Linked DNA regions of Homo sapiens: all the other regions are linked to region 1. Evidence: promoter capture Hi-C in 16 types of primary human blood cells and fetal thymus (Javierre and others, 2016). All regions are on one chromosome and are shown on one strand. Each heading gives the region's core, a stretch centred on a gene start or on the middle of the fragment in contact. The rest is flanking DNA. Distances are from core to core; before and after follow the strand shown. Region 1 holds the start of GATAD1 (GATA zinc finger domain containing 1). Region 2 has its middle 54 kb from the start of MTERF1. Region 3 has its middle 35 kb from the start of MTERF1. Region 4 has its middle 72 kb from the start of SAMD9. Region 5 has its middle 13 kb from the start of MTERF1.

Evidence for each region. The method cuts DNA at HindIII sites, captures the fragments that hold promoters and counts their contacts. A CHiCAGO score of 5 or more calls a contact.
Region 2: a fragment that was not itself captured here is called in contact with the fragment with the promoter of GATAD1 in region 1 in 11 of 17 cell types (naive CD8 T cells, naive CD4 T cells, non-activated CD4 T cells and 8 more); the score reaches 11.6 in naive CD8 T cells.
Region 3: a contact is called between a fragment that was not itself captured here and the fragment with the promoter of GATAD1 in region 1, in 3 of 17 cell types (endothelial precursors, fetal thymus and erythroblasts). The highest score is 7.2, in endothelial precursors.
Region 4: a contact is called between a fragment that was not itself captured here and the fragment with the promoter of GATAD1 in region 1, in 3 of 17 cell types (activated CD4 T cells, neutrophils and total CD8 T cells). The highest score is 5.3, in activated CD4 T cells.
Region 5: a fragment that was not itself captured here is called in contact with the fragment with the promoter of GATAD1 in region 1 in 4 of 17 cell types (naive CD8 T cells, endothelial precursors, fetal thymus and 1 more); the score reaches 6.2 in naive CD8 T cells.

What each region holds. Positions count from the first base shown.
Region 1 is chr7:92,445,216-92,451,394 of GRCh38, forward strand. GATAD1 (GATA zinc finger domain containing 1) reads left to right here and starts at 2,267. Exons shown (of 5, transcript NM_021167.5): 1 at 2,267-2,763; 2 at 3,537-3,662; 3 at 5,486-5,545. The coding sequence starts at 2,515. RefSeq lists a silencer at 2,187-2,956 and an enhancer at 3,387-3,436. The HindIII fragment of the contact is 4,596 bases long and covers 357-4,952 here.
Region 2 is chr7:91,823,667-91,829,845 of GRCh38, forward strand. No RefSeq gene overlaps it. Among named protein-coding and RNA genes, the nearest start is that of MTERF1, 54 kb to the right of the region's middle. The HindIII fragment of the contact is 5,722 bases long and covers 1-5,258 here.
Region 3 is chr7:91,843,037-91,849,215 of GRCh38, forward strand. No RefSeq gene overlaps it. Among named protein-coding and RNA genes, the nearest start is that of MTERF1, 35 kb to the right of the region's middle. The HindIII fragment of the contact is 2,333 bases long and covers 1,470-3,802 here.
Region 4 is chr7:93,042,489-93,048,667 of GRCh38, forward strand. No RefSeq gene overlaps it. Among named protein-coding and RNA genes, the nearest start is that of SAMD9, 72 kb to the right of the region's middle. RefSeq lists an enhancer at 1,373-2,104. The HindIII fragment of the contact is 1,561 bases long and covers 2,432-3,992 here.
Region 5 is chr7:91,864,407-91,870,585 of GRCh38, forward strand. No RefSeq gene overlaps it. Among named protein-coding and RNA genes, the nearest start is that of MTERF1, 13 kb to the right of the region's middle. The HindIII fragment of the contact is 1,726 bases long and covers 2,847-4,572 here.

The DNA.
Region 1 (6,179 bases), core at 1,017-3,516:
CAAGCAATTCTCCCGCCTCAGCCTCCCGAGTAGCTGGGATTACAGGTGCCTGCCACTACACACAGCTAATTTTTTGTAATTTTAGTAGAGATGGGGTTTCGCTATGTTGGCCAGGCTGGTCTTGAACTCCTGACCTCAGGTGATCCACCTGCCTCAGCCTCCCAAAGTGTTGGGATTACAGGCATGAGCCACTACGCCTGGCCTCTTCTCACCTCTTTGGTTCTGTAGCTGGGCATGGGAATTACACTAACATAAGACAGATTTACTGGAAAAGGCATAAAAGTTTTAATATTTTTGTACATGCACAGGAGGCTTTGTAAGAAAAATAAAGACCCATAGAAGTTACTAGGCCCGAAAGCTTATATGTCCTTTTAAACAAAAAATAATAAATTGCAGGGATGTGACAAGACAAAGGGGCTTGGGCTAAGGCTGGCAAATTGTGGGAAAGTGACGAAGAACCGTATGTAGAAAGTTAATGGAAAATATGGGTTACAAATTTTTGTAAGGTTTTGTTTGTAGATTCTTCTCAGTGGCAACTCTGCCTCTGGCAATAATATTCTCCTCTTCCTGGTACAGAAAGGGCACCTTTCACAAGGGAACTTTTATGTTCCGCTTCAAACAGAAAGAGGGTGGTCAGACAGCCTTCCCTGCATCTGTTTTTGCTCCATTGCCTCTGGCTCAGAAGAATCAGTATGCCAAAGTGGCATATTTTAGGATGGCAGGCTCTAAACACCTTCAGCATTGTTCTAAAGTGAGACAACACTCTTTACCTAGTCTCCTCAGCCACTTTTACAGTTGGCCCTAATCCCCATAACAGTCCTGGAAACTTATTTTTACTGTTAAGGAAACTGAGATTTAGAGGGGAGGTGACTGAGCCACAACCCACACCCCAGAGGGCTGTTCCAAAGCCCTCCTCGAAATTGGTGCCAAGGGCAGCAGCTATAATGACAGCCAGTCCACATAGAAGTGCCTCCGTTGATCACCAATTAACAGTAAAATCTGATAATATCTCATTCCAAGGTTGTTATAAGCACTAAATGTGGTTTTGTGACATAATAGGCGTTTGTTTCTCCCCACTGCTTCCCACCACAATATATTCATCAAGACCTTTCCAAGGATACTAAGTCTAGGAAACCCAGGATCATGAAGAGAGGGCATGTTCTTCCAAGTGAGGCTGAGGAGAGACTTGTCTGGCGAGGCCTGTACTGACTAGTGACATTAAAAGAGGCGATCTGACTTCTCATACTGCTCTTGTCCCAGGCCTGCTGTTTGTCAACTGCTGGGTCCTCAGAGCCAAAACTGTTTTCCAACAGTTTTGAATTGAATAACAGCCAGCTATTCGATTTTCTCCGCATTCTCTAATCGGTATACTCTTCAGAGTCCACAGGATTTGCAACGATATTATCCAACGGCTGAAGAATGTGCGCTTGACATCTTAGGCTGTAAAATGTCTCAATTTCAATTTCTAATACATAGATGTCAGTGGATGGCATTTTCTGAACCCTTTGTCGATGTCCATAAACGGCATGCTCTGAATTCAACTAAACAAAAGTATAGACATGGGGGAGGTGTAGGGCGATGTCCAAAGTATAATTTTTAAGAGTGTAAAGGGTTCCTAAGTAAGATTGCCAGATTTTTTTTTTTTTTTTGAGACGGAGTCTCACTCTATCCCCCAGGCTGGAGTGCAATGGCGCGATCTTGGCTCACTGCAGCCTCCACCTCCCGCGCTCAAGAGATTCTTCTGCCGCAGCCTCCAGGGTAGCTGGGATTACCCCAGAGCCCGCCACTGAGCCCGGCTAATTTTTGTATATTTATTAGAGAAGGGGTTTCACCACGTTGGCCAGGCTGATCTCGAACTCCTGAGCTCAAGTAATCCGCCGGCCTTGGTCTCCCAAAGTGCTGGGATTGCAGGCGTGAGCCACCACGCCAGACCTGGATTGCCAGATTTAGCACATAAAAATACAGGACCCCCAGTTAAACGCCTCTCGGATAAACCATTATTGCATGGGATACACTCACGCTAAAAAAATTGTTCGTCGTTTACCTGAAAGTCACATTTAATTGGGCGTCCTGTATTTTACCCGGCAAATTCTAGGCCTGAGACCAAAAAGTTTGAGAACCCTGCCCCTAGGCGACAGCAAGCGGAACTGCAGCAAGCTCCCAGTAATTCCGGGTGCTGCACTTCCGGTCAGGCGGTCGGGCTGCGGGGCCCTGGGGCCAGCTCACCGCCGGAAGTCTCCGCGTCCCCCCCACCCCGGCCAGATCCCTTTCCCAGTCCTGCTTCCCAGTGCCTCGGGCCAGGGAATCCTGGCCTCCGCCTGCGGAGCCGGCGGAACCCGCTTCCCGCCTCCACGGGGCAGCGCCAGCGGCCTGGTCCTTTCACCGGCAGCTCCGTGCCGACGCTCTCACCGCTCTTCCTATCGCCGGGAGTGGCGGGCCGACCAGGGGGCGGCCGGGCTACCGTCCGCCATTCCCGTGTCTCTGCGCCCGCGGGGGCCGCCCGAGCCGGCCACCATGCCGCTGGGCCTGAAGCCCACCTGCAGCGTATGCAAGACCACGTCGTCCTCCATGTGGAAGAAGGGAGCGCAGGGGGAGATCCTCTGCCATCATTGCACTGGCCGGGGCGGCGCGGGCAGCGGGGGCGCAGGCTCGGGGGCGGCTGGAGGGACTGGGGGCAGCGGCGGCGGCGGCTTCGGCGCGGCGACCTTCGCCAGCACCTCCGCCACCCCTCCGCAGAGCAACGGGGGCGGGGGCGGCAAGCAGGTGAGCTCCTCCGGCCCCTCCCGCCGGCGGAGGCCGACCAGGTGCTAGGCGGGCGGGGACGGGCTGGCTGGGAGCGGGCGGGCGCGGGCTTCCCCGATCGCCGTGCTCCTGCTGGCTGGAACGCCCCTCCCCACCTCCTACTGAGATCTTTCGTTTGGCCCATTCCGAAGCACCTGTTATTGTAAGAAATTCAAAGCAATAAGAACCAAGATGTAAAGCCCTTAAGAAAATCTCAATATACACATGTCTACACAGTCGTATACAGTGTCATGCCACAAATGCAGGCGCTGGACCTCATTCCTTGTTAAAGGTTTTGTCATATCAGGTTATGAAGTAAGATTATTATGTCATTATTGTAAATGGCAGCTTAAGTATTCCGTTGCAGGGGGCGCCATAACCTACTACGTTCTCTGGCCTTAGGGAGTAAAGTTGTTAAGTGTTTTTCTCTATTGTAGACACAACAAATGAATAGTGTTTGTCTTGGTCAAGACTGACTCCTACTCCCGCCTCCTGCCCTATTACAAGCAGCTCACACCTTTTGGAGGCTCTGGAGACGCCTGTCCAGCGAGCTCCGAGATTCCGGGTGCTGAACTTCCGGTTTTACTTAGCCTAGTTGCTGTAATTACTTCTCTTGAAAAGCAAAAGGGCAATCTTAATTGTTAAATGCTCTTATAAAGTACATACTCTGGGATCCTTGTAAGATGATTGTACTGCAACCTTTATGCACTTTTTACTTCTTTCTCTTTTTGTTCTTTAATTTGTTTGTGTAACAGAGTAAGCAGGAAATTCACAGGAGGTCTGCTCGGCTCAGAAACACTAAATACAAATCTGCTCCGGCTGCTGAAAAGAAAGTCTCCACCAAAGGAAAAGGGAGAAGACATATATTTAAATTGAAAAATGTAAGATATTTGTGGACAGTGCCTTTTACTGTAATGACGTTGTGTGTATCCTGCCACTGCCTTCATTTCTCACCATTGAACTTGGACTCTGCCCTTGGTAGCCCTTCCTTAGTATTCTGGGGAATGGTCCAGATTCCCCAAAAGGGAATGAGCTCTGTTGCAGGAGGCTCACTGTTTATAAAGTTAATAATACTCTTTCCTTTTTGTTTTTTAGCTTTTATTTTTTCCCCTGGAAAATATAAAATATGGGTTTAAAAGAAACATCAACCTTGAGCCCATTTTTTGGGGTTCTCTATGGAAAGGAAGAGGAGAGATTATGGTTCTTGATATGGCCAGGTACACTAAGAAAACTTTTTTTTTTCATTCTTTAAAAATCTAAGTAAATATTAACACTAGAACTCATCATTTGCATATTTATTTGTTATTAAAGCCCCAGAAAATGTATCTTACTGACTTATGATGATGATGTATTTGATGAATATGAGTCAAAAATTTTGCTAAGCCTTATCTCCTCTTCTGCTCTAAGAAAAGAGATTGTTGAAAGACCTGTGCTGGAAGTAGTTGAAAGCATATTTTTATTGCAATTAAATTCTCAGTTTTTATAAACAAGGGATAATGTTCAAACACAGTGGACAGTGCATTATGGACTATTTTTTTAAGTCTCAGTATGATATTCTTTTCTTTCAGAACAGGAATGTTTCACTTACCCGTAAAGACGTTTCTGAAGTTGGCCATATTTATTTCTAAAACACAAAGGGACCCTGCAGTAGACTTATGCAGATGGCAGACTATTTTCTTTTTTTTTTTTTAATTTAATTTAATGAATTTTTTTTAATTTTACTTTAAGTTCTGGGATACATGTGCAGAATGTGCAGGTTTGTTACATAGGTATACGTGCCATGGTGGTTTGCTGCACCTATCAACCCATCATCTAGGTTTTAAGCCCCGCATGCATTAGATATTTGTCCTAATGCTCTCCCTCCCCTTGGCCCCCATCTCCGACAGGCCCCAGTGTGTGATGTTCCCTTCCCCAAAGTATTTTCTTATTCAGACTAGTTGCTTCTAATTTATTTAAGATTTTTATAGTTAAGTGAGGCATTTGTTGATTACACAAAACATGTTATTGATATTTGTATCACATATGCACATTTTTTTCCTTTTAAGTATGGTATACCGTGTTCTCAGCAATTATTTCATTATCGTTTCTCTGCAACCTTTCTTCAATGGTACTAAGCAAGACACATCTGGGGAGGCCTACTTTCTATGTTGTGGCATAAAAGTATGTATTGAAGCTTTAGTAGAGATCTCAAAAATGGTTGGATGGTAGCAAATTACTAAGAACTCTCAAAGTTTCTAAAGCCTTAGTTTCAGCTTGCTAGAAAACCTATGTTGAGTATTATGGCTAGTTCCATAGTTGAGTTGGGAAATGTCTTTGAGGAGACACTTTTTCACTTTGTATTCATCTGTACATTTTCTGTTACTTGCATTCTGTCATGCTCAGGCTATTAGAGCAGGTACATTTTTATAACTGGAATGTTTATGTGTAGTGAAGCTCTGAGAGGACTTTGCATTAGATCTCAGCAGCATAATCAGAAGGTTGTCCTTTGTCTCAGCAATTTTTAAGCTAATAGTAGCAGAAATTGCAGTGGAAATAGACTGCTTTGCCACAACATTCAGAAAATCATTTATCTTTTTATTGCAGTTCTTGTCACCAAACAATACATTTTAGTACTTCTCAAATTGCAGAACTCTCATAGGGCTGGGAAAATGCCTGTAGACACATACATACTATGAATGTGCTAATGTTTTTTGTATTTTCATAGCCCATCAAAGCTCCTGAGTCAGTTTCCACTATAATCACTGCAGAATCAATCTTCTACAAGGTAAGCTTTTGTAGAGTTACTGAAGGAAGAGTTGGGCCTAGTGGGTAATGTGCCACTAAAATGTTGGATTAGTCTAAAGGTCTCTGCTACTCTTTATTTGTATAAGGTGTGATTATACTTTTTGTTCCCTTCTTAGCTGTTTTCCCCCATAAGTGGCTGTTATTAAAACATCTCATCTAGAGCTGAAGTGGGAGGAGAAAGTGCCTACTGACACATGATGTGAGGATCTTAAGTATTTTTTTTTAGTGTAGATTGTAGGAATTATTCTTAAAATGCTGATTGTATAGTGTGGAGCCATGGAAGACTGAGCCGTTAGTGCGATGGCATTGAAGAATGAGAAGGACAGAGACAGGATTTGGACTAGTAGAGGTTGTCGACTGTGGTGTCAAATGGGTAGAGTAGGCCCAGAGATTCTAAAATGCCTTTAAGTGGAGTTGAGCTGAGTAAGGGCAGTAGTGAGGATTAACACCTACTAGAAATTCATAGTGAGAGGAATTCCAAGATGTTTTGATAAAAGAATGAGGAGGTCAGGTTTCCCAGGGCCAAAGTCCATGAACATCTGATACCTCAGTGAGAGAAGTGACAGATTGTTGTGTTTAAACCAGAAGTCTTAGGAAAGGAATTAGAACATAGA
Region 2 (6,179 bases), core at 1,148-3,647, 620 kb before region 1:
TGGGTTAATTCAAAGGCCGTGTTTTTGAGCTCTGAAGTTATTTCTTCTACTTGTTCTATTCTGTTGCTGAGGATTTTCTGTGTATTTTGCATTTTTGTAAGTGTGTCCTTCATTTCCAGAAGTTGTGATTGCTTTTTATTTATGCTATCTATTTCTCTGGAAATTTTTCCATCCATGTCCTATAACATTTTTAAAATTTCTTTGAGTTGGTATTTACTTTTCTCCGAGGCCTCCTTGAGTAGCTTAATAATTGACCTTCTGAATTCTTTTTCTGGCAATTCAGAGATTTCTTCTTGATTTGGATCCATTGCTAATGAGCTAGTGTGATCTTTTGGGGGTGTTAAAGAACCTTGTTTTGCCATATTACCAAAATTGTTTTTCTGGTTCCTTCTCATTTGGGTAGACTACATCAGAGATCCAGTGTTCAAGGGCTATTGTTCAGATTCTTTTGTCCCATAGGGTATTACCTGGATGTGGGTGCTCAGGGATGAGGCTTCATGAGAGCCAAACTGTAGAGGTTGTTACTTCTCTTCTGGATCTAGCTGCCCAGCAGAGCTACCAGGCTCCAGGCTGCTACTGGGGAGTGTCTGCAAAGAGTCCTGTGATGTGATCCATCTTCAGTTTTCTCAGCCCTGGATACCAGCACCTGCTCTGGTAGAGATAGCAGGTGAGTAAAGTAGACTCTGTGAGGGTCCTTGGTTGCAGTTTTGTTTACTGTGCTAGTTTTGGGTTTGTTGGCCTCCAGCCAAGAGGTGGCACTTTCAAAACAGCATCAGCTGTGGTACTATAGAGAGGATACAGGCTTACCCTAGTGTCACCTGGAAAAGTTTCTCAGGTAGTTGGTGTGGCCATACAGCTCCCAAGAGATTATGTCCTTTGTCTTCAGCTACCAGGGTGGGTAGAGAAAGACCATAAGTTTGGGGCAGGGTAAGGCATGTCTGAGCTCAGACTCTCCTCAGGCAGTGCTTGCTGAGGCTGCTGTGGGGAATGGGGGTGTCATTTTCAGGCCAATGGAGTTATATTCCCAGGGTGATTATGGCTGCCTCTGCTGCATCATGCAGGTTGCCAGGGAAGTGGAGGAAAGCCAGCAGTTACAGCCCCCACCTAGCTCTCACCCAGCTCCCACACAGCCCAAAAGGCCGGTCTTACTTTCACCGTGCCAACCCCCCCAACAGCACCAGGTTTATTTCCAGGCAGTGGGTAAGCAGGGCTGAGGATTTGTCCCAGGCTCCAGGCCTTCCCGCTGGGAAAGCAAGTAGGGCTTTCAGGTTTCATGCCTTCCTGCCTGCCACAACTTCTGTGCTGTTTCTGCGCTCCCAGTTCACCCTCTCACCCAGATTCTGTCCAGGAAACTTCATGTTTGGTTGAAATTGTTACAAAGTTCAGCTGGAGGTTTCCTTCTCCCTGTAGTCTTTCCCCAATTCCACTGGTATCCCTTCCCAAGGACCCCTGTGAGACAAAGTCAGAAATGGCTTCCCTGGGAACAAAGAGTGCCCACATGCTCTTCCCACTGCTTCGTCTACCCCTGTATTTCACTCAGCTCTCTATGTTTATCTCAGCTCCAGGTAAGGTCAAATCCTTCTCCCATGATCTGGACCTTCAGGTTCCCCAGTGAGGATGTGTGTTCAGGGGCAGACGATCCCCCTTTCACACCTTCACACTTTGGGCACTCACAGTTTTTTGGATGTCTCCCAGAGCCTGCACTTCCTTCAAAGGGTCTGTGGATTCTCTCGACTTTCCTGGTGTATTCCTGCACTAGTTCTTGGAGCAAAAGTTCACAGTGTGAGTCTCCACACACTGCTCTGTCCATCCAAGTGGGAGGTGTAAGTTAGTCCTGCCACCTATCCATCATTTTCCTCACAAAACTTTTGAAAAACTGTTTGAACTTTGGAAACTACTGAACAATAAAATCTATATTTGTTGTGGGCTTGCCCTAATAAAAGTTTGTAAGTCACTTTTAATTCCTTTCTTAAAAATAATTGCATAGCTAATAATCCTTGATGTTTAACCAACTGCAGAACTTGAATTGTCAATATTTTTATAGTATCTATACCTAGAAAGGCTTATGGAAAACAATAAGGAAACAGCTGTTTTCAAGTCCTCATTAGAACTTAATTTTAGGAATCTTTACACATTCTGATGCAATTTTTACTCTAGCAGCCTAACTACCATGTGTATTTTATGAAACTCCAAATGTTGGCATTTTATCCTGTATTTGAGAAAAAGCATTAAATAATTTATTTTACACTTCTTTCAAGTTTTACCTGCTTAGAGTCTAATAGTCTTTCTTTAAAGGCAACAGAGAAACATCATGATTTTTTAAATGAGATAAATGTTCCAATGGCAAATACACTATAACCATTATTCTGCTACTATTCATAAGTGTTTCCCTACTACACAGCCAGTGTCTGGTACAACAGGAAACTGTTAATGTGATTTTCATTTGTTCCTTGAATATCTCCAGCTGAATATGTGAGATTTTTTTTCCTTAATCTTGGTCCTATTTAGTTTGGGAGGTTTTGTTTATTTCTTTGATTTTCAGTTGTGGTGGGGTTTTTTTAGCTAAGATATAGCAAATAATGTTAAAAGATGGATTTTGATGGGTATAATTTTTTCTTAATGAAATCTACAAACCAAGTAACTGAATTTTTAAATCAGCCATTCTGGATATCTTCTGCTAGTGTTTTAAAGCCTCAGATATTTAGGTGGAAAAGTCTAGAAAGAATAACATTATATAAAAGGATTCAATTATAATCAACATTTTTCTTGTCGCCCATATACTCACTTCTTCCCTTGCCCAGCCTAAATTCCACAGTCAATCACTAAAGCATTGTCCTGCATGACACTCAATTCCCTACTCCACTCTCTCTTCTCTTAGTCACTTGGCAAAACTTCAACCCTCATTAAATTCTACTCTGTCTGCTCTATGTGGCTGATTGATCTCACTTTAAATTCATGACCACTAAACCCCAGTGGGCCCACTATGCTACTTTGTAATCACAGTATATTTCCTATTCAAGTAATTGTCCCACTCTCCTAGGCAACTGCCTCATAATCTCTCCTCAATCTTCTAGCACCTTCTCCTTTATCCTCACTCTTAGCTGATAACCTTGGTTCCTATTTCAATTAAAGAGCCAAAGAGATTATTTTAAAACATCAGTCAGATGCTTACAACCTTCCAGTGGCTCCTTCCCTCTCATAGTAAATGCCAAAGTCTTTACGATGACCTGCATGACCTGACACTATTACATCTCTGATCTCATCTTCTATACTTACCCCTCTTTTATTGCTCCTTCCTTATTGACCCCTTTGTTGTTCAGTTAATACATTAAGTTCTCTCCTACCTCTGGGCCTTTGCACCTGCCATTTCCTCTGCCTAGAACGCTCTTCCCCTGTATATATTTTTATGGCTCACTCCTTTGCTTCCTTTCTCTTTAAATATCACCTTCTCAATGAGGTCTCCTCTGACCCTTTTATTTAAATTTGAATCCCTTCATTCACCCTGGAACTCCCTCTACCCTTTTCCTGCTTTATTTTTTGCCACAGCACTTATCACCATCTGCATACTGTATGCTTTACTCATTTATTTTGTTTTTTGCCTATATCCATCTACTAGAACATAAGTTTTGGCCTATGGGCCAGAATTATAGCCTATTTTGTCCACTGTTGAAACTCTAGCACTTGAAACTACTTTATACCTACTGGGTGCTTAAGCAATATTTGTTGAATGAATGAATAAATAAAATACCTTTATTAAAGGAGGTGTGTCGAAACTTCACCTGTTGGCTTGCTAGTTTATGTCAGGTTGTTCTCTCTGTAATCGTTAAAAACAAGCACTTAAATCCACATTTGTATTTGGTCAGTAAAATTACAAAAATAATCTTACTTTTAAGATTAAGCTGTGAACAACGCTGTGTCCAGCAGGAACATCTGTGAGCCGTTTCCTTTGCCCAGAAAAAGAGAGTTGCTGTTGTCCACTCTCAGTGATATCTCAGAAATAATGGCTTGTAGCTCAAAGATGCTTTCTCTCTTTTTACAAAACCATAAGACCCACAAAAATTACATTAGAGCCAGGATTTGCTTAAGTCCCACTCACATTAACCATTATTACTCACCTCCCTACAAGAGTACAAAAGTAACCAAATGTTCCCTTCATGTTAGTCAAAGTTTTTTGTTTTTTGCTTTTTGGTTTTTTCAGACAAGGTCTCTGTCACCCAGGCTGGAGTGCAGTGGTATGATCACGGCTCACCACAGCCTTGACCTCCAGGGCTCAAGCAATACTCCCACCTCAGCCTCCCAAGTAGCTGGGACTACAGGGGCCTTCGTGTTAGCCAAAGTTTTTTATTTTTGTTTTTTGAGACAGGGTCTCTGTCACCTGGGCTGGAGAGCAGTGGCGTGATCTTGGCTCACAGTAGTCTCGACCTCCTGGGCTCAAGCAATTCTCCCAACTCAGCCTCCCAAATACCTAGAACTACAGGCACACACCATTGCACCCAGCTAATTTTTGTATTTTTTGTGGAGATGGGGTTTCACCATGTTGGCCAGGCTGGTCTCAAACTCCTGGCCTCAAGCTATCCACCCATCTCGGCCTTCCAAAGGGCTGGGATTACAGGCAGGAGCCACGTGCCTGGCCCTTGTTAGTCAAAATGACATCCCTAGGCATTGTGTGTGTGTGTGTGTGTGTGTGTGTGTGTGTGTGTATGTGTATGTGTATATATATATATATATCTTATCTCCAAAATGTATTATACCATAAATCACTCAAAGTGTTTTCTTATGTCTATTTTTAAAGATAGCATTACATCGTATAGATCTATATTATTAATACATACAATCTGGGGTGTTGGGTTAGAGATTTTAATTGAATAGTGATTCAGGGAATTTTGTGAAGGAAAAAAAAGTGAGATCAATTTTCCCCTTGCAGACTTTAGTAGGTAATACTAATGTCATATATCTTACTTGCTTTATAAATCATGTTTTAAGTTCCCTATTACATCTAAGTATTTAGAAAAACAATCCACCAAAGCACTGGGGGAATAAACCCTCAAATTCAAATCATTAAAATGAAATCTGTCTCTGAATGTTTGAAAGGATTTACAGTAAAAATATCAGTTTGATATTGTCAATGAAAGGTATCATTCATGAACCTGAAGGAGGAAAATGGCACGCAGAGTTGGGAAACTTTACAAAATTTAAAGCTGCTATAAGGGCAAGGGACTTGGGAGATTATTAATTTGCTGTAGCTAAATTCAGATACAAGCTTTTCTTTGTTATTTGACTTCTGGTGCCATTTTTTTATCGTCAAAATTAACCGAGTAACAGCCACTAGAATTTTTTATTTAAATTTATTAGCTGCATAAGCTAGCTAAAAATATGAAAGTTTTAAGACAAATTAGTTGATTTGAATGTCAACTACAATGACAGGGCCTGCTTGTTTTTCATTACACTGCTATGTTGCATTTGATAACCATATGAAAAGTAGCTAAATTGTTGTGCCTTCTACACAAAACATCGTCTGTTGATTCCAGAATATACAGAGCTACATGGGGAAGGCAGTGTGTTGAGCTGAGAGAGGCAGCTTCTGCCTTCTTATAGCACTTACAGATGGAGCCATCCGATTCAGCCACCATCTTCCATTACTTATAGTTTTGTGGGCACACATCTTATCTCCCCAGGACTGTACCTAGAGCAGTTCTGGGAGTTTCCTATTTCTTCTAATAGGCTATAACTTCCTTAAGATTAGGACCATGACTGAGTCACCTTTATAAATCTCACAAAACCAGTTACATTAAAGGCATGGATGCCTATGTTCCCAATTAAACAATAAGCCCTTGAAAGGACAGAACATCTAGTCTGATTAATCTTAAGTACAGTGTCTTAAACCTAGTTGGCAATAAATAAATATTGACTCTATTTTGAATAAATTGCTGAAGAATGAATGAATGAATGAATGGCAAATACTCTGCAACCCCTTGATAAGTGATAGCAAGGAATACTTTCTGTATAGCAAAGCAACTTTGTAGTCCAAGCCCCCCTATCTCTACTACCTCCTCCAAAGATGGAAAAATCAGAACTACCTGTGCTTCAGTAACTTCAACATAACTAGTATCATTATTTTCAGAATTTAATAAAGTATAACATTCATGTCCTAGAGCTACTGCCTCAAGCTGGTAAGATGG
Region 3 (6,179 bases), core at 1,386-3,885, 600 kb before region 1:
TGTGGACATATATTTTCATTTTTCTTGGGTTAAGACCTCCAAGTGGGATTGCTTGACCATATAGTAAATGTATAACTTTATTTCTTAAACTGCCAAATTGCTTTCCAAAGTGGCTGTTTCATTTTGCATTCCCACCAATATATGCAAGCTCTAGTTGCTCTATCTTCTTGACAACCCTTGCTATGGTCATTTTAATTGTAGCCATTCAGGTGAGTGTACAGTGATATCACATTGTAACTTTGATTTGCATTTCCCTAATGACTAATGGTGTTGCACATCTTTTCATATACTTATTTGCCATTTATATATCCTGATTTGAAGTATCTGTTCAAATCTTTTTCCCACTTTTATATAGGATTATTTGACTTTTTTATTATTGAGTTAAAAGTTTCTCTATATAATCAGATACAAGTCCTTTATTAAATATATATTTTAGAAATATTTTATCCCAGTTCAAGGCTTACTTTTCATTTTCTTAGAAGTAACTTTTAAGGAGCAAAATACTTTATTTTTATTTGGGCTCAGTTTATCCATTTTTTAACATCATACTTCAATATTTTATTATAATGGCTTTAATAATTGGCTATCTTTCCTACTACAGAATAAGCTCAATGAGGAAAGACTACATGTTTCCCTTGCTTACTACTTTATTTCCTGTGCCTGACATGTAAGGCACTCTAAACCTGGCACATAAGGTACTCAACAATATTTAATTAATTGATTGTAATTGGTAAAAACATGGAGATATAATTAAGTTTTCTGTACTTGACAAACCAATCATATTACCTGCCACACTCACAGCCTGCTAAGCTGCCATATTTTGTGTCACATGGTTCTATTCTTTCTACTTTCTTCCTTTGTGGCTACATATCATTGGGCTAGAGAGAAGCAAGGTTACCTAATCCCCAGGCTGACCATCTAACTACACCCAGTCCTGATGTGGGAAAAGTCTATTCAAACAGAGGCAAGCTAGACCAATCAGAGTCTTTTTATTAAAGATTCGAGTTGCAAAATACTATAGGGAATAGGCAGATAATAGATATGAAACTGAAACAAAGGCCATGAAGCAGAACAAAGGCTATGAAAATGTTTGTTTTCTTATATTTTTAGAGACAAGGTGTCACTCTGTTGCCCAGGCAGGAGTATAATAGCGTAGTCATAGCTCACTGCAGCCTGGAACTCCTGGGCTCAAGTAATCCTAAGCTTCCCAAGTAGCTAGGACTACAGGTATGCACCACCACGCCCAGGTCTTTTGCTAGAGATGGGGTCTTGGTACGTTACCCAAGCTGGTCTCAAACTGCTGGTCTCAAGTGATCCTCCAACCTCAGCCTCCCAAAGCACTAGGATTGCAGGTGTGACTCACTGCACCCAGCCAAGATAATATTCAGAAGATGAATCTGTGAGGTAGCTAAAAGAAAAGAAGTATACTATGGTGGTCATCAACTTGATCACACATCTGAAACTTGAAAAGCTTCTTAAAAATTCATTCACCAGGTCTCATAGAATTTAATTCAACAAATATTTATTGAGTCCCTAATTTGTGCCAGACACTGTGATAGTCACTAGGATAACAGCTATCCTATACTCATGGATCTCACAGTTTAGAGAAACAAAAAGAAAAAAAGTAAACAAAATAATTATCAATCATAATAACATAATTTTTAAAAAGAACTGAAAATAGAAAAAAGAAAATAAAAACAGTAAAACCAACTCTAGACGAGATGTTCAGGGATGGCATGACTGAAGAGAGAATATTTAGCAAGTTCTCCTGTCAGTGAGAATGGAGAATGGGAAGACCACAGAGGCTTTCAAGACTGGAGTGCCAAAACCTTGTGGCTTTACCTACTTTTTACTGGCCAAAACAAGTTATGAGACAAGCCCAGATTCAAGGAGTGGGAAAATAGACTCCATCACAAATGGAAAAAGCTGCAAAGTCTGAAATGGCTGTGAGTACAGACAGGCTGTTAATTGTGCCATCAACACACTCAATCCACCTCAGCTACCACCACTGTGTGTAGACTCCTGACATGCTCGGCTTCCTCACTGGAAGCTACCATTCTGGAGTTAGTCTCCAGCTGGATCCTTCCTCTCAAGATCTGTCCTGCCTTCTATACCACCTCTTATATTCCATCTGCTTCCTTCACTCCATTTCCTATTGCCTTGAATGAACCACTGGGGCTCCCACTACCATTCAGATGAGTTCCAAGAGGCTTATAACTTCTAAGCACTGTCTCTGCCATGACAACAAATCTAAGCTGTCTTTCTGAGGATGAAATACCAACCTACAGCCAGCAGATATTCAAACATGTGAACAAGTCCAGCCAAGATCAGCAGGGCAAACTTCCAGACCCATAGCTAACCATAGATGCCTAAGTGAGCCCAGTTAAGACCAGAATAACTATCTTACTGATCTATAAATTCCAGAATAACTACACCATGGTCCATAGACTTCCACCGATTCCAATCCAATTATAAACAGCAACCATAGCAGAAACGCAGTCTTGTAGACTAGACCATGATGGTGGGAGGTGGGGGAAAGCAGAACTACAACTTAGTGCTAACATGATAAGTCAGTAGTGGTAATCCTAAGAGTGGAACTGGCAAGGAGATTTAGGGGAGTAATTCTGATCATAATTTAGGATCCTGAATATGGGCAAGGGAAAACCATGAGTCTGATTTTGGACAATTTTGATGGAGATAGTAGAGATGTTTGACAACAGTTGGCAATGTGGACCCAAGGTTTGGAAAACAGTTGCTGGTAGAAGAGCTAGCAATGAGATTAGAGGAGAGAAAAGGAGAGAAAAGGCTGCTGCTGTAGCCTTGGTTAAGGCTAAATTAGAGAAAACAAACGGGAAGAAGAGTCAATTTAAAAAAAAAGGACAAAGTAAACAGAAAGAAATCCAGGATATTGCAGTGTCTTAAAAGGCATGAGAGGCCAGGTGCGGTGGCTCACGCCTGTAATCCCAGCACTTTGGGAGGCCAAGGCGGGCGGATCACGAGGTCAGGAGATAGAGACCATCCTGGCTAACATGGCGAAACCCCGTCTCTACTAAAAATACAAAAAATTAGCTGGGCGTGGTGGCGGGTGCCTGTAGTCCCAGCTACTCGGGAGGCTGAGGCAGGAGAATGGCGTGAACCCGGGAGGCAGAGCTTGCAGTGAGCCAAGATCACACCACCGCACTCCAGCCTGGGCGACAGAGCGAGACTCCATCTCAAAAAAAAAAAAAAAAAAAAAGACATGAGAGCAGATAATTTCAAGAAATGGGGCATTAAACACTGTCAAGAGCTGTAGCAACATGAAGGCAAATGAGAACTCAAAGTTCCTATTATCAGGGGATCAGTGAATGAAAATGAACAAATATTTTAAGACTGACTCACAGTGAGAATTATAGTAAAATAAGGACTTTAATTTATAATTTTGAAGTATTTAACAAAGTTTTTGTAAATGTCATGCAGGCCTAGCATCAATAGAACAAAGCAGATGGGGAAAAAAGTGACCAGGAAGATAGCCAGTGTAGGAGTCTCAAGAAGAAAGGTATTTATCAGGAAAATATAACTACTATTTTTATAAAATTCCTGCAATTGCTTATAAAAACCACAATACTCCTTGAAGTCTGAAAACATTTTGAATATGCTTCACTTTGCAGATTTAGAAATAGTTCCCTGGTGAGGGTTCAGTTTTGAAGGAAGAGGAGCCAACAAAAAAAAAAATCAGATTGCATAAGAAGCCAAGTATAATCTTTCTTTGATGGCACTCACTGGGCATCCTATGAATTTATAATCAAGAGCTTCTAATTGATAAAGCTTTGATAGCACAAAAGGTCACCATGGATTACTTGGTCCTGCTATGCAACATACTGTGCTCTTCACAAACATTAGCAATTAACCGCAATAAATAATGACATGAGTCACCCCTTCAAACATAGGGCAGCATCCTGAAGCCCCTTACCTGCAGTAAACAGCAGTCAGAACTGGCCTTTGTTGCAAACACTTTTCAGTTGTTTTCCATACCGCCGATAAATTCTCCTCTGAAGTTTATGATTTTTTTTCCATTGAACATATACATTTATATAGGGTATAATTCTATTCTCTCACATAAGACAACCATATTTTCAAACAAAGTTTCCATATCATAAGTGATACATGTATGAACTTGTCATTTTTGTAAATCTATTTAATTAAATTATTCTTTCTTTTAACCAAGAACTTTTTACTGTCCTAATGACTTATTATGTTAATTCAGGGCAACTGGCAAGAAGGAATTAGGTGCCATTCTGTTGTAACACGTCTCATTTCCATTCCAATTTTGTTCACAATAAATGTGTTACAGTTCTTCCATTGGCAGTCAAGGAAACCTCATACAAAAGCAGCTTTTACTTGCGGTTATAAAACAGCCAAGCAATACATACGCTATTTGACAGTTTGGAATATCTGTTTTCCAGCATTCATCTGGAGCTGTTATTGGAACCATTAAAATTATTTTCTTTATAGTTTTTAAAGGCCCACAACATGTTAATTTATCCTGATGGATGGTATAATGCGTTCATGTAAAAGAAAAACAAGTGTTACATAAAACATGACTAAGCTGTCAACCACCTCCTCTTTACCTTCCTTTTAACTCTGCATGTTTAATTTATTCTCCATTGAAAATGGCAACCAATAAAAAATAAAATCCCCATTTTGATTTACTTTTTACTTTTCACACCCCTTATCACACTGAGCAATTTTTTGATCCAAAATAAGACTGAAACTTCTGCCTTCACACAAAAGTAAACACAGATGGTCCGATAATAGTAGCGAACTTTACACAAACTGCCCCATTTGAAGCAGGCCTATTTAATGCCACATTTCATTAAATATGACCTATCTTAAATCGGACAGGCTCTCCTGCAAGGAGCCAATCTTTATCTTTATTTAAACTCAGTGTGGCCTGTCACTATAAAAGACTTTGCCTTCTTTGAACAAGGGTAGACATTAAAGCTAAAGAACAGGGTGGGCCTCCTTACCCCAGCCAGGCCAATCCAATTTACAAACAGATTGTATTCAAAGGCTCTTTTGTCAGTCTATTGTAGGATTTTAAAAGCATTTTACCACAGAAACAATGTTATACCCACTGGTTAGGTTCTTAAGAAAGGTCATTTAAAAGGTTAAAAGCCTATTTAACCCAACATATAGTTGTGCTGATATTTTAATAGGAATAAAACGCACCTGTGTTAAGTAATACTATGGAATGATGTATAATAATGTCTCTGAGGAAATTCATTAAGAATTCTGACCTTTTATGCCTGTGACACAACTTCTGGTAACATCATCCTCACTTCCCTCTTGCAGACCTCCCCTGCTACTGGGCAACAGGAGTTCAACTTCCTTGTCCTAAATATAAACCACCAGTATTGGCCACTATCATCTGGAGCCAGGGCTCCAGCATAGTGGAAGATTTATGTAAGGGCGTATGAAGACAGAGACTGGGTCTGAGGGGTGAAAGTATGGGATGGGGTCTAGGAAGTTAGGAATCGACAAAAGTCTTCTGCCAGGGTACACCTCAGGCCTCACTCCTTGGTCTAGCCTGTACACCATCATTCTTTTCTTCCAGCAGCCCTGGGATTGTTCTGATTCCCCTCCAACTGCTACCACCTGTTGCTTCCACCAAGGTTTCACTCTTCCTCCTGGTCTACTGCATCACAGAACAGCAGTCTTGGCTTTTCTCCTTTGTTCCCACGTATCCTTTTGAAGTTTCCTAAAGATTGTTACAGCTGCTAACAAAGGAGGTCAAGAGATAAAAGTGTTTTTCCAAATTTGCCTTCCACATCTTTTCTTTTTTAATTGAGACTAAGTTGAGAAAAAAGCACACTTGGATAACAATCGGTTTGGTGGGGGTGGGGGACAAAAAAAGGTATAAATTTGTTTTACAACATTTAAGAGCAAGACAGCTCACATTAAATGGATATGTTCTACTCAGAAAAAAAAAAAATCTGGCTCTGCCCTCACCAGCCAGAAGTATCAAGATATTCCAATTCACTTTTGGGTGACTGCCTTCTCCTCTTCAATGCCCCCCACCAGCATGGGGAAGCAGGATGGTGCCCTGAAAACAAAGTAAATCTCTTATGATCCTTAGGCCATCATGATCACACATGAGATGTTAATTGCCTCAGTCCACCAGTCCATTCAAAGAAGGACCA
Region 4 (6,179 bases), core at 1,962-4,461, 600 kb after region 1:
CCTGCCCTCAAGCAATCCTCCTGTCTTGGCCTCCTAAAGTGGTAAGATTACAGGCATGATCCACTACACCTGGCTGGATGTCCATTTTTATGTATCTTCTCTAAAAATGCATTATGTGTACAACTGGGTCTTCAGTATCTGACTTTTCATCCCAGGCTCAAATGTTTCCTAGACTCTTAAACATGCCATTGTCACTTCTGAAGCATAGAAAAGGCACAGAGAGATAAAATGATTTAAAAAAAATCATCATCCAAGTTCTTGATAGTGGTAAGTCAACAAACTAAATCATAATTAATATTTTGCTTAGCCACCGATGAAGTGATATCAAATCTTATTAAATATGATTAATTAAAGCATTGTTGTAAATAAACACAAATCACTGACCACCTCAAAGCCTTTGCAGCCACTTTTGAGAAGTGCAGCTCTAAGACTAACTTGGATTTTTCCACTCCCAGTCTCATCCTCAGACAGCCCAATTACTGGGAAACACAAGGCTGAATTTGAAATTATTTTATGGGGGCGATTTTTCTGTCCCCTTACCCCCAGTTTCAACTCAATTAAGGATGCTTTCTTGTTTGGCGATTGCCCGATTGTGGGATATCTTCATATAAATTCCCCCAAAATGGAATCATGGATAGATATGTTGTAACAAACTGCACATTCCCTGATGTTTGCTTTTTTCGAAAATGCGTTAGTTCTACCTTCTTTTTAAAAATTCATTAATTCATTTATTTCTGCAAAGAGGGAGCGCCTTTAAGTCAACACACACACACACACACACACACACACACACACACACACACACACACACACACGAATACCCAGGTACTCAGGCCCATGCAGTCAGTCATTTACTAAATCAATCTAGGCTGGAGAGACTGTCATCCTTCAGCCCTACAAAGGGGCTCAGTGTGTGCATCTTGCGCGGAATTAGTGCAGGCAAACAGTTCCTGGAAGGGTGAACAGCTAGCTCATGTGTAAAATGATCGCACATCGGTTCCCCAGCTGCCGCAGCCCAGCGCCGGAGCCGGAGAGGCCAGGGAAGAGCCTTCCCCCGAGGCCAGCCAGGCAGAGACGCGGGAACATAAAACACATTCCAGCGGTTGGCATCTGGGCGCGCAGCTGCCAGGCGCAGCCACTGTGTGGCCGCGGGGGCTGCGGAGCGGGCGGGGGCAGAGCAGGTCCGGCGCCAGGCCTGCAGAAAGCGGCCTGCGGGCCAGTTTGGCTCTGCAGGCTGTGGCCTCATTACTGAGAGCAACAGTTTTATCTAGAAAGTGTGCTGTGGGGGATTTTGGAATCCTCCTCTGGGGCGAGGGCTTGGGGAGTAGCTTTGGCACTCCCAAGGCTCTGGGGTCGGGGAGCATTCCATGTACCGTGGTGTTCATGACTCAGGCAAAAGGGAAACCCCAGAATTACCACAAAGCTATCCCAATCCTGGCTTGGCATCACCAATCAGCTAAAAGCAATGTTTTCATTTAGCATTTAGGAGTGCACGTTTGTGTCTGTGTATGCGTATGCATATTTTTAAGAATGAATTCTCCCGATTTTCATCTTTGCAAATAGATTGGGGGTTGGGGGTAGACGGCCGGTAATGCCTATTAGAACTTCAAGGGATTGGTTTTCACATGAGAGAGCTTCAGAGATGAGAAATCGCTGAAATTATCTGGTAGCAGCTTCTGAGGGACATTTACCGTGGATTCACTTTTACATTTCAGTTCATTTGAAAGCCAGTATGGTTAAATTAACCAAAATCTAAATTAAAAAAAAAATTCCACGATTCTTCCAGGCCTACTTCACATCATCAAACCAGGCCCTGCTGGAGGCCCCATTAAAATGGCAGCTCCCACTGAGAGAGAGACAAAAGCCCCCTCTCTGAATGGGGATGCTGAAACAGTGATGGACTCTCAGAACTGCTTTTTTTTTTTTTTAATCCATTAAAAAAAAGTTACCTCTGCATTGACTGTGAGAGAGTATTTATTTCGCTCTCCACACTGTGGGAAACAGAGGCGTTCTCCCTTATAAGGACACCCAGACCTTCTTGGGAGAGGAGAGAAATATGAATCCATAACATGGCTGAACAAATTCCTCCTCGCAACTGAATTCATGGAATGTTTCAGACGTGAACAGCTTAATTTTGGTGTGGTCTGGGACAAATTAATATGACTCAAATCCCACCTCACAGAGGAAGCATCTCCTGATGAAGTGGGTGGGGTGAGTACACTCACTTCCTTCAAAATTCTGTCTAACAATCATCTCTATTAAATTTCAATATGTCTCACCCTCTCCCCCAGCAAGAAAAAAAAAACAAATAGGGAAATCAAGAACAAACTAAAAATATATCTAAAAAGCCTAACTGCAAAGTGTTCAGCAAATGATTATGTGAAATTTTAGGCTGTATGAATGATAATGAGTTTGTATACAACAGAATAAAAGCTTCTAGAGGGTAGTCCAGAAACTGTATTTTGGGAGTGAATACATTAAACAAGATCACTCTTCTAGGTTCTCATGAAATCCCAGTTATCGTTATTCCAACCCGGAAGGCTTAGGGATGAACAAGGACATATCATTCTTTTCTTCCAGAGGATGAACTGGACTTTTCACCTTAGCATTTAATCGGACACCACTCTTTTCCCATAGAGGTGCTCAGTCTCTAGCAGGGAAGGCCATTTATACATGAAAATGAACTGTAATGTTATCCTCTCCAGGACTAAATTTATTTACTTTTGTAAAATGGGAATAATTTCTTCACGCTTTCAAAGTGGAAAAATGATTGCTAGCACATATGGGAGTAGATTCTTGAGTGAAAGTTACTATAAATATTAAATATACAGTGGGATTTAGGAACCCACTTGCATGTGGCTCACACACATTACCTTATATTTACAGAAGGCAGTGGTGAGAAAGATTACTTTTCAATGATCAAAAATAGAAATCACGTTTATTTGGCTTTGAACTGCATCATATGCTTGTTCTTTCTACATATTTAGCATGTAATTATGTTTGGGTTTGGTTTGTGTTAAAAATTAGATTACATTTCCTGAACCACTGATAATCAGCAGAAGTTCTTCAAGAAGCAAGATGGGTTGTTAGGCACTTTGAGGTGGAATGCCAGCCAAGATGCCATTTTTGAGATGCCCCTGGGCTCTATAAGCACAGGAGACCATTAGAGACCATGAAATGCTGACAAACCCAGTGTGATAATACCACTCTGTGTGACAATCTCTGTAGTGGTAGAGGCTGTATATGTACTCTAGAACAGTGCTCCCATTCTAGAGTGGGGTTCTCAGAACACATGTCCCTTTCCAGATGCATCTGCTATACATAGTTTTTCTATAAGAACACTATTTTGATCAAGAATCAATAGGAGAGACATTTAATTTAATATCACTGTTAAGAGCCTTTGAAAAATGCTTATTAATAAAAGATACAAATTTATGCATCCCCTTTTCATTACAAGAATCATACACCATCAGAGGTAAAAGGAACATCCTTCAGAACTGGTTTTCAAATGCTTTTTTTGACTTGAAATAGACTCCTTTTAAAAATGGAATAAAAAGAAATAAAAGTCCACATGGCATTCCAATATGTAAAATAATACCAGTATGTCTTACTGAACAGGGGAAATACATAGGGTTTCAGAAGTTCATTTTGAAAATCACTGTGTTAACATGTTTCCTAAACTTCCTGAAAAAGAAACTATATGAATCATCTCAGGATGCAAAGGAATAGTAACAAACACAGAAATCCTAAAATATCGGGGAAATGGTATCATTGTACTAAGATGGCACCTACTCGTATACAGATGAAGAAATGGGAGCCTGATTGTTTGCAACAAATGGCCAAAGGTTGCACAGCTCCTTTAGGACAAATTCAGGATGCAAATTCAATGTTTTTCTCCCCAGCTTGCGGGTCACTATCTGATGCCGCCTCTGGAGTCTGGAATGCCTTTGAAATCAGGCTGTATGACACTCTAATCAATTTTAATGATCTAAAGCTTTTATAAATTGGTGAAAAATTTTATAGCACAAAACTACTTTCTACATTGTTCTGTGCTGCCACAAAAATCAATCACGATTCTCAGGGATATTTTTATGTTCATATATTGATGATAATCATTCCTTATATTTATGTAGCTAGATATGCATGGCTTAAACACCACCACATGCATTCTGGGACTGGACATAGGACATGACATCCTTGACCAGTAAATCCCTTGAATGAGTGCATTTTCCCCCTCTGTGCATGTCTCCTTCTCGTCCATTGTCTGTCTCCTTTTCATGCCTGTCAGGCGATGGCCATGACTGTGCACTTATAAAGGTCAGTGACCCAGCAGAGAGGGCAGGCCCTGCAGAAGGCGTGTTGATGAAGCATTACAATGCACACTGAATTTGTTAGCTCTCTGGCTTACTCCCAGGGGCAGGCTACAATTGTTTCCTGTGTGGCATGGCACCCACCCGGAACTCTTATGGTATGGGCCATTCCAACCAGGAATCTCTAAACCACATCCTACAAAATAAACATCCCATATTTCCCAGCTCACTAGATTCTTATACCTGGCTCTCCTTCCCTTAATTTGTACACTATACCCAGTGAAATGAATTAAAACAGAGTTATCTCTTATTTACATAAACAGCCATAGGGAGGTTTTCAAGGGATTATTTGCAAAACTGGGAGGCCACATAGATAATAATAAACTCACATCTTTCAGGTTGAAAACTTTTAGAAGGCTGAGGTCTTAAGCCTCTTTATATTACAAATACTAAATTAAACAAAAACAGACATGGCATTTCCTTTGAGATTGTCTCAAGGAAGGCAAGCATTTATTTCTCTCTTTGGAGCATCTACCTTTTAATAAAGCAATGATTATCTAGAAATGGAAACCTGTGATTCAAAAATAAAAGATTCACCTAAAATTTCAAATTTGCTGTAATTTATGCTACCTGTGCAAAACTTTTTACTGAAGTGAAATAGAATGAAAAAGTTGCCTGCATATGTTCTGGTTCTGGTTGTGTTGCAGTAGTTTGTATCAGACTGCCCTTCCTACAGATAACAATTGTGAACTCTGGACAAAATATTAAAAGAAAACAATTGAAACATACTGGGGAGACAACAAAGCAGCCCAAAACCAGAGAGAATTTGATCCTTGAAATAAGGAACCACATTAGATAAAATCAATGTATTTATTGATTTTTCCAAAGGTGCTCTATACTCCACTTGGTGCAGGACAGCTAGAATTGAAGCAGAAAGCTACAGTCTTATTGACCTGAGGAGTCAAAGGATAGTGTTTGGAGCTTTCACAACATCTGGAAATTGAGGGGTAAAAATCCCAGAGAGAAAGATCACAGTGGGGCTAGGTAGGCCCCAAATCTGCTCATAATCTCCTCTCTAATCTTTGGTGACCCTGAACTGTACGTGTGAAGGGGAAACTCCAAGTTGACCAGTGAAAAACTGTAGCTGAGAGACTGAAAGAACAGAACAGAAATTTTTAAGCTCTTGTTCACTGCACCAAGACAGAGTTTAGAGTTTGAGTCCTGCCAAGTTTGAGGGGCTTGGTAGTTTTTCAAGATTTCCACTTAAACTCTAGAAAACTCATGCTTTAGTTATAAAGACTAGTTATCAGATTCCAGAGATTTGCTTTAGGACTAATAACACAATGGAAACACACCCCATCAAAGCATAAAATTAAGCCTCTAAAAGTTCATTGGTGAGCTGCCAGTAATTTAAATGCCATGGACCACAAAATTCGGTACTGTTGAGAGGAAAAAACAGAAACTAGACTTTATAACGTATTCTTTATGATGTCCAGTATACACTAAAGAAGTACTAGACATACATATGAAGAAATGGGGAAACGTGACCAAACAGTAAATGACCCAAGATGACTCAGATGTTACAAAGACTTAAAATTAGCTATTATATATTTGTTTAAGGAATTAAAGAATAAGATAGTCATAATAAGTGGACAGATGGAATATTTCAGCAGAAAAATGCAAACTAAAAAAGAATGAAATATAAATTTTCAAGCTAAAAAGTACAATGTCTGAAATAACATTTACTGGATGAATTTAAGAGCAAAGGATTAGTTAATTAGAAGACATCCATAGAAACTATCCAGTCTGAAGAATAGAGAGAAGAAAAATTATGTGAAACAGTGTGTGAAGAGAACTTTAAGGTCCTGT
Region 5 (6,179 bases), core at 2,460-4,959, 580 kb before region 1:
TTAGCTGGGCGTGGTGGCGCATACCTGCAGTCCCAGCTACTCGGAAGGCTGAGGTGGGAGGATCACCTGAGACAGGAAGGTCGAGCCTGCAGTGAGCTGTGATCACACCACTGCACTCTAGCTAGGCAACAGGGTAAGACCCTGTCTCAAAAAAAAAAAAAATGAATGAAAGAAAAACAAAATTGCTAAGAAAGTAGATTTTAAGTGCTCTCACTACAAAAAAAGATAAGTATGTGAAATAAGGCATATTTTAATAAGCTTGATTTGGCCATTCCACAATGTATACATATATCAAAACATGTTGTACACCATAAAAAAAATACAATTTTTATTTTTGTCACTTAAAATAGTTATACCATGGAATACTATGCAGCCATAAAAAGGAACAAGATCATGTCCTTTGCAGGGACATAGATGGAGCTGGAAGCCATTATCCTCAGCAAACTGACACAGGAACAGAAAACCAAACACCACATGTTCTCACTTATAAGTGGGAGCTGAACAGTGGGAACACATGGACACAGGGAGTGGAACAACACACAATGGAGCATGCTGCAGCAGGGGTTGGGGGAGGAAGAGCATCAGAATAAATAGCTAATGCATGTGGGGCTTAATACCTAGGTGATGGGTTGATAGGTGCAGCAAACCACCATGGCACACATTTGCCTATGTAACAAACCTGCACGTCCTATCAGTCTTTGATAACCTTTCCAGGAAGTTCCATTATGCTACATGGAAAGAAAATGGGATTCTCTGGACAAGCTCTGAGCTCTATTAATTCTCTATGGTGACCTCCTGAGCCCAAAGAGGCCTCCTGGAATGCCAGTCTTTTCCCTATAGGTCTCAAACAGCACATCCCTTAACCACAGCGGTCCAGGCTTGCCAAGTCTCCAATTTACATAAAGACAAGTCATAAATGATATGTGATGTGGAAGAATGCTTATCATATATTTATAAAAACAGGTTTAAAATAGTTATTACATAAGAATCCAGTGTCAAGCACAATAGTGCATAGTCAGTGCTCAACAAATATGTGTTCAATAATTTAATTAATTTTAGCCAGAAAATGGGTATTTATTTTCTACACAAAACATACATGCATGGGGAAAAAAAACTAGAAAGTTATATTAAATAATATTAACAAGTACTATCTCAGGGTTATTGGAATTATAAGTACTTTTTGTGTGTGCGCTCTTCTGTGTTTTCCAATGTTGGGTAATTACATGACTATTTTGCAATCAGGAAAAAAATATTATTTTTATAAACAAACCAACAAACTATCAAAGCTACTACTGAGCTCTTCCATGCTCCCAACAGCATCAATGTTGGCAGTAACTCAGAATGTGGTCTTTATATAAATAGCAGTTTGACTGGGAAAGGAGGAGAGGGTGTACTTAGGTTCTCTGAAGGTCCTAGTTGACCAAGCCATTGCCAAGGTGTCACCCTTGCTCACGGACTCTAGGGAAGAAAATATAGGAGCACAAGGCAAAACTTACCTAAAGAAGTATTAACTTCACCCTAGGGGATTGGGAGAGGGAGAGAATTTCTCTATCTGATGACAGATCTGTTCCAGAGTCTGCTGTCAAATCTTCAGATGTCAGGTAGAATTTGAACCAGAATTCAACTTGATTAGGGCATGATGCAGACAATAAAGACATAACATCATTTAACTCCAGAGACTTCAACCTCTTTTGTAGCCACCATAACATCTAGGGCATGCTTTGTACATATGGTGCTTTATACCGCATTTATTTTACTTTTTTCGAATTCTACCATTTTCCCTCACATATCAATCCTCAGATCTAGAACTATTTACCAAATCACAGTTAAGTGGGCAAGGTCATTAAAGCAGCTATTAGATGCCATGGGAGACCCAAGAGCACATGCATTTGTTTGCAACTTTTTCTAAATGATGGAGAAATCAAGGATAGTTTATAATGTGCATATAACATTTAGTCTCACAACAAAATCTGATTCCCTCACTTCAGATGTCACAATTAGGATCTCTATTTAAAAAAACTCCTAAACCCCCAAAAAGATGAAAATTTAAGATCAGTTGCAATCATGTGGAGAACATACCACTTTATGTTGGGTTTTGTGTACAAATACACAACAAATACCACCACAGAAGTTGACAGGTGAAAATTAAGTAAGAACAGAAGATTTGGCAGTAGTAACTGAATAAGTATAAAGACATTGCTGTATATTTTTAAGCATTAACATTGTGTAACAAACAAGGTGTTAAACTTAGATGAAAATGAAAAAAGCACCCTAATGTAATTTCAGAACTAAGACAATGAAAAATGAAAAAGTGGTACTTGAAAAAGAAAGAAAGAGAGAGAGAGAGGAAGGAAGGAAGGAAGGAAGGAAGGAAGGAAGGAAGAAAGGAAGGAAGGAAGGAAGGGAGAGAGAAAAGAAAAAGAATAACCATTAAAAGAAAACAGTTTCAGACATTAAACTAACAGGGAAATATATATATGCAAAAGTATCTGTTTATTTTCTTACAGCTTAAGGCTGACAACCTACAGAAAAAATGGCACAGTGCCGACCTCTTTTGGCATTTAAAGGACGCTTAATTTAGTTTGGATTATCAGCCAGATTTAGAGCTAATTGGCTTTAGAAACTGTACAGCAAAACCTCTATCTAGTTCCCCCTACAGTTCATGAAGTTCTACACACAAGTAAACACAGATTAAGACCTAATTTTAATCTTTTTAATCAGTTATATATAATTTATATACTTGTTATCACAAAGTTAAACTTTAATTCTGTGAATAATTTATCACATTCAGCTAAAACAGTAAGCTATAGCCAGCTGTATTGTACTTATATGAATTGCAAACATAAAGCTTCATTCAGAAGGGCTTCTGAAGTAGCTGTGCAGGTCAGAGAGAGAAATTCAAACATACAGAGTGGGATAATGCTGATCTAACTGCACTAATTTTGTCATAGACACTTTAGTTGATATTTAGGGTACAACATGACAATCAGTTCTCCCTAACTGCAGTAAAGCAAAAAAAAAAAAAAAAAAAAAAAAAAAAAAGATTGCCTCTAACTTGGGTGGTTGCAGCCTACTTTCCTTGGAAAAGGAGGCTATATGTAGCTGTATGACAGCGTAAACCCAATCCATTAACTAATTAAATAAACCAGTGCTTAACAGGGCATGGGACTTCATAAGAGCCTTTGTTTTCTTGTGACGAAAAGGTCAAAATCTAGGTTTTTTTTTTTTCTTCTTTAAGAGATGGTGGCTTCCTATGTTGCCCAGGATGGACTCAAACTCCTGGGCTCAAGGAATCCTCTCATCTCAGGCTCCCGAGTAGCTAGGAATACAGACACGAGCCACCATGTCTAGCTGGAAGTTAGACTTTATCTGCATTCCTGGAATAGTAAAAGCAAAGCACGGGTCAGCTGCTTTCGGTAAATTCTAGCCCATAGGTCCAAGTCAAGTTCCAGGAAGCCCCCTATGAAAAAGATTCTGATATTAGTACCAGTGTTTAGTTCATGTCATGGCCTGACTTAAGTATAGGTCATTAAGTGTAATGCCAAGGCAGGGGCTTGAGTGGTTTGGAGCTCATGACTGTTCCACTTGGAATTTATCCTGGTGTATGAATACGAATCTATCAATATTTTTTTTCAGGTGGCTTCCCAGTTCTCCCAACACTTTTACTGAAAAGATACTGTCTAACTATTTATGTCAATATAGAAACATAAAGTCAAATATATTTGTTTAGTAGACTTGAAGAGAGCCTAGAAACACACTCAGAGACATGTAAACAGCATCAGACGAAGATGGCATTTCAAATCAGAGTTGAATGGATTTTTCAGCTTTGCTGAGGTATAACTGAAGTGTACTAAACTGCACATATTTAAAACATATAATTTGATACATTTTGACTCACAAAACAATCACCACAATCAAGATGATGAATATATAGATCACTCCCAAAAGTTTCCCTGTAGTCTTTTGCAGTCCTTTCTTCATGGCCTTCTTCATCCATCCACCCCATCTCGGTAACCAATGATCTGCTTTCTGTCACCACAAATTAGTGAGCACTGTCTAGAATTTTATGTAAACTGAATAATAAAGATTTTACTCTTTCGCTTCTTTCATTCAGCATATTTTGAGATTTGCTCATGTAGTTGCATGTATCAATATTTCATTATTTCATATTGGTGAGTAATATTCCACTGCCTGAATATATCACAATGTACTTTTCAATTCCATGTTGTTCCAATGTCCATTGGGTTACTTCCAGTTTTTGGTTATTCCAAGTAAAGCTGTTTGAACAAGTACAATTATTTGAATAGACATAAAGCATGGCAATGTTAATTTCAATGTAGAATTCAAACCAAAATGTATTAACTACAATAAGAGAGAGCTTTATATTGCTGTCTACCAAAAAGATACAGGTCAATAGCTTTCATATAAGCCTTTACAACAACTTTCCATTGTTGTAAAAGATCTATTCTGAACAAAACACCAGGCCCAGATAATTTCAAAGTTGTGCCAAACTTTAAAGAAATGATCATTTCCAGTTTTCAAACAGTTTCAAAACATAGGGAAAAAATAGTAAGCTTCCAAATTATCTTGAGGCTAGCACAGCCCCGATCCAAAAACCTGACAAAGTGGCAACCTCCTTCCCCTATTAAAAAAAAAAAAAAAAAAAAAAAAAATCTATGTACCAAAACTTTCATAATAAAAGGTAGGAAGGATCTGTAGACCAATCTCCCTTGTGAATACTAATGAAAATCTAAGTAAAATATTAGTAAATTGAATAGGGCATAGGTTTTAAGTAAAAACAAAAAGTGATATGCAGAAATCCACTGATGTCATTCATTAAATGATTAAGAGATTACTTTTAAAGGATTTTTTTTCAAAAACCATCTTTCATCCCTGATTTAAATAAATAAACCCCTTTGTGAACTAAGAATAAAAGGATATCTCTTCAACCTCATGATAAATAGGTTAGCTGAGACTTTGTTTCTTTGTATTGTTCAAAGACTTTTACAATGATTATTACCACAGAATAAATTCATTTCCAAGGTAAACTTTTAAAAGAAAGAGAATTATGGTGGGCAGAATTTGAAGGTACCTTGAGAGCTGGTGAAAGTGGCACTGGGATATTCAAAATGGAAATGAAAGAATTAGCATATCATCATACTAAAATTGTTCATAATTAACATAAAGCAATTCATGTACAAAAGTTCATTAATCTTCACATAATATTTCTATTAAGGACAAATAAATCCCAAATACTGATCAGAAAAATAGTGAAACTGAGACAGAAAATGAAATTCCATCAGTGTATCTTCTATTTCTTCCCAAAATCTAATAATAATACAGTCCTGCTATTCTAGCTCGCTTGTGCCAAACTTTTCCTGAACTGTATAACAATGGACTATTACCAAAGTTTGTGGCTAGGGTTCTGCCATCAACAGTTCTCTACTGGATCTCCACTAGATGGTAGCAAGTAAGGAGGCATTACAGACTAACAAGGAAGGAGCCAGTAGTCAGGGTTTTGTTTTGTTTTTTTACAGGAAAGCTATATTGTTGGATCTTTAGCCATAGACCATGTACCTACCCAGCCTTAGAAATTATTTAAGGGGAGAAATTACTAGTTTAATAACCCAATAAACCCATCTATAAATATTCACTTTTTAAATTCCTTCCTGCTAAATTCATCTGGAAGAAACTCATTTTTTTTCTTTTTAATCTGTGATATTATCCAAATTCTTGCAGTTATTTGAAAGTGCTCAAATTTATGGCAATAATTTAGAATGGTTTCCATTAAAAATGAAGTTTTACAGATCCATCTGACATTTGGAGAACGGCAAAATGCAGCACTCTTAATATTTATATTTTCTAGACCAAAATTTTAAGTTATAAAATATACCAACGATTAAAACATGGTGGTATGCATTAACACTACGGAATACTGAAATAATCTAGGTAGGATTTTCAAAAAATTGCTAATGTACTAAAATTTACTCACTCTGACCAATGGTGACAAATTATGGTTTATCCAAAGAACAGAATTTCATGCAGCCATTAAAAAATCATGTTATAGGTAAATACTTGATTTTGTAATTAGTTACTAAAGAATACTTAGTATGTTCAGGATCTATTACACTAAAAAAATTATAAAATAGTTTGGTTTCAAACATATATGCCACTCATCT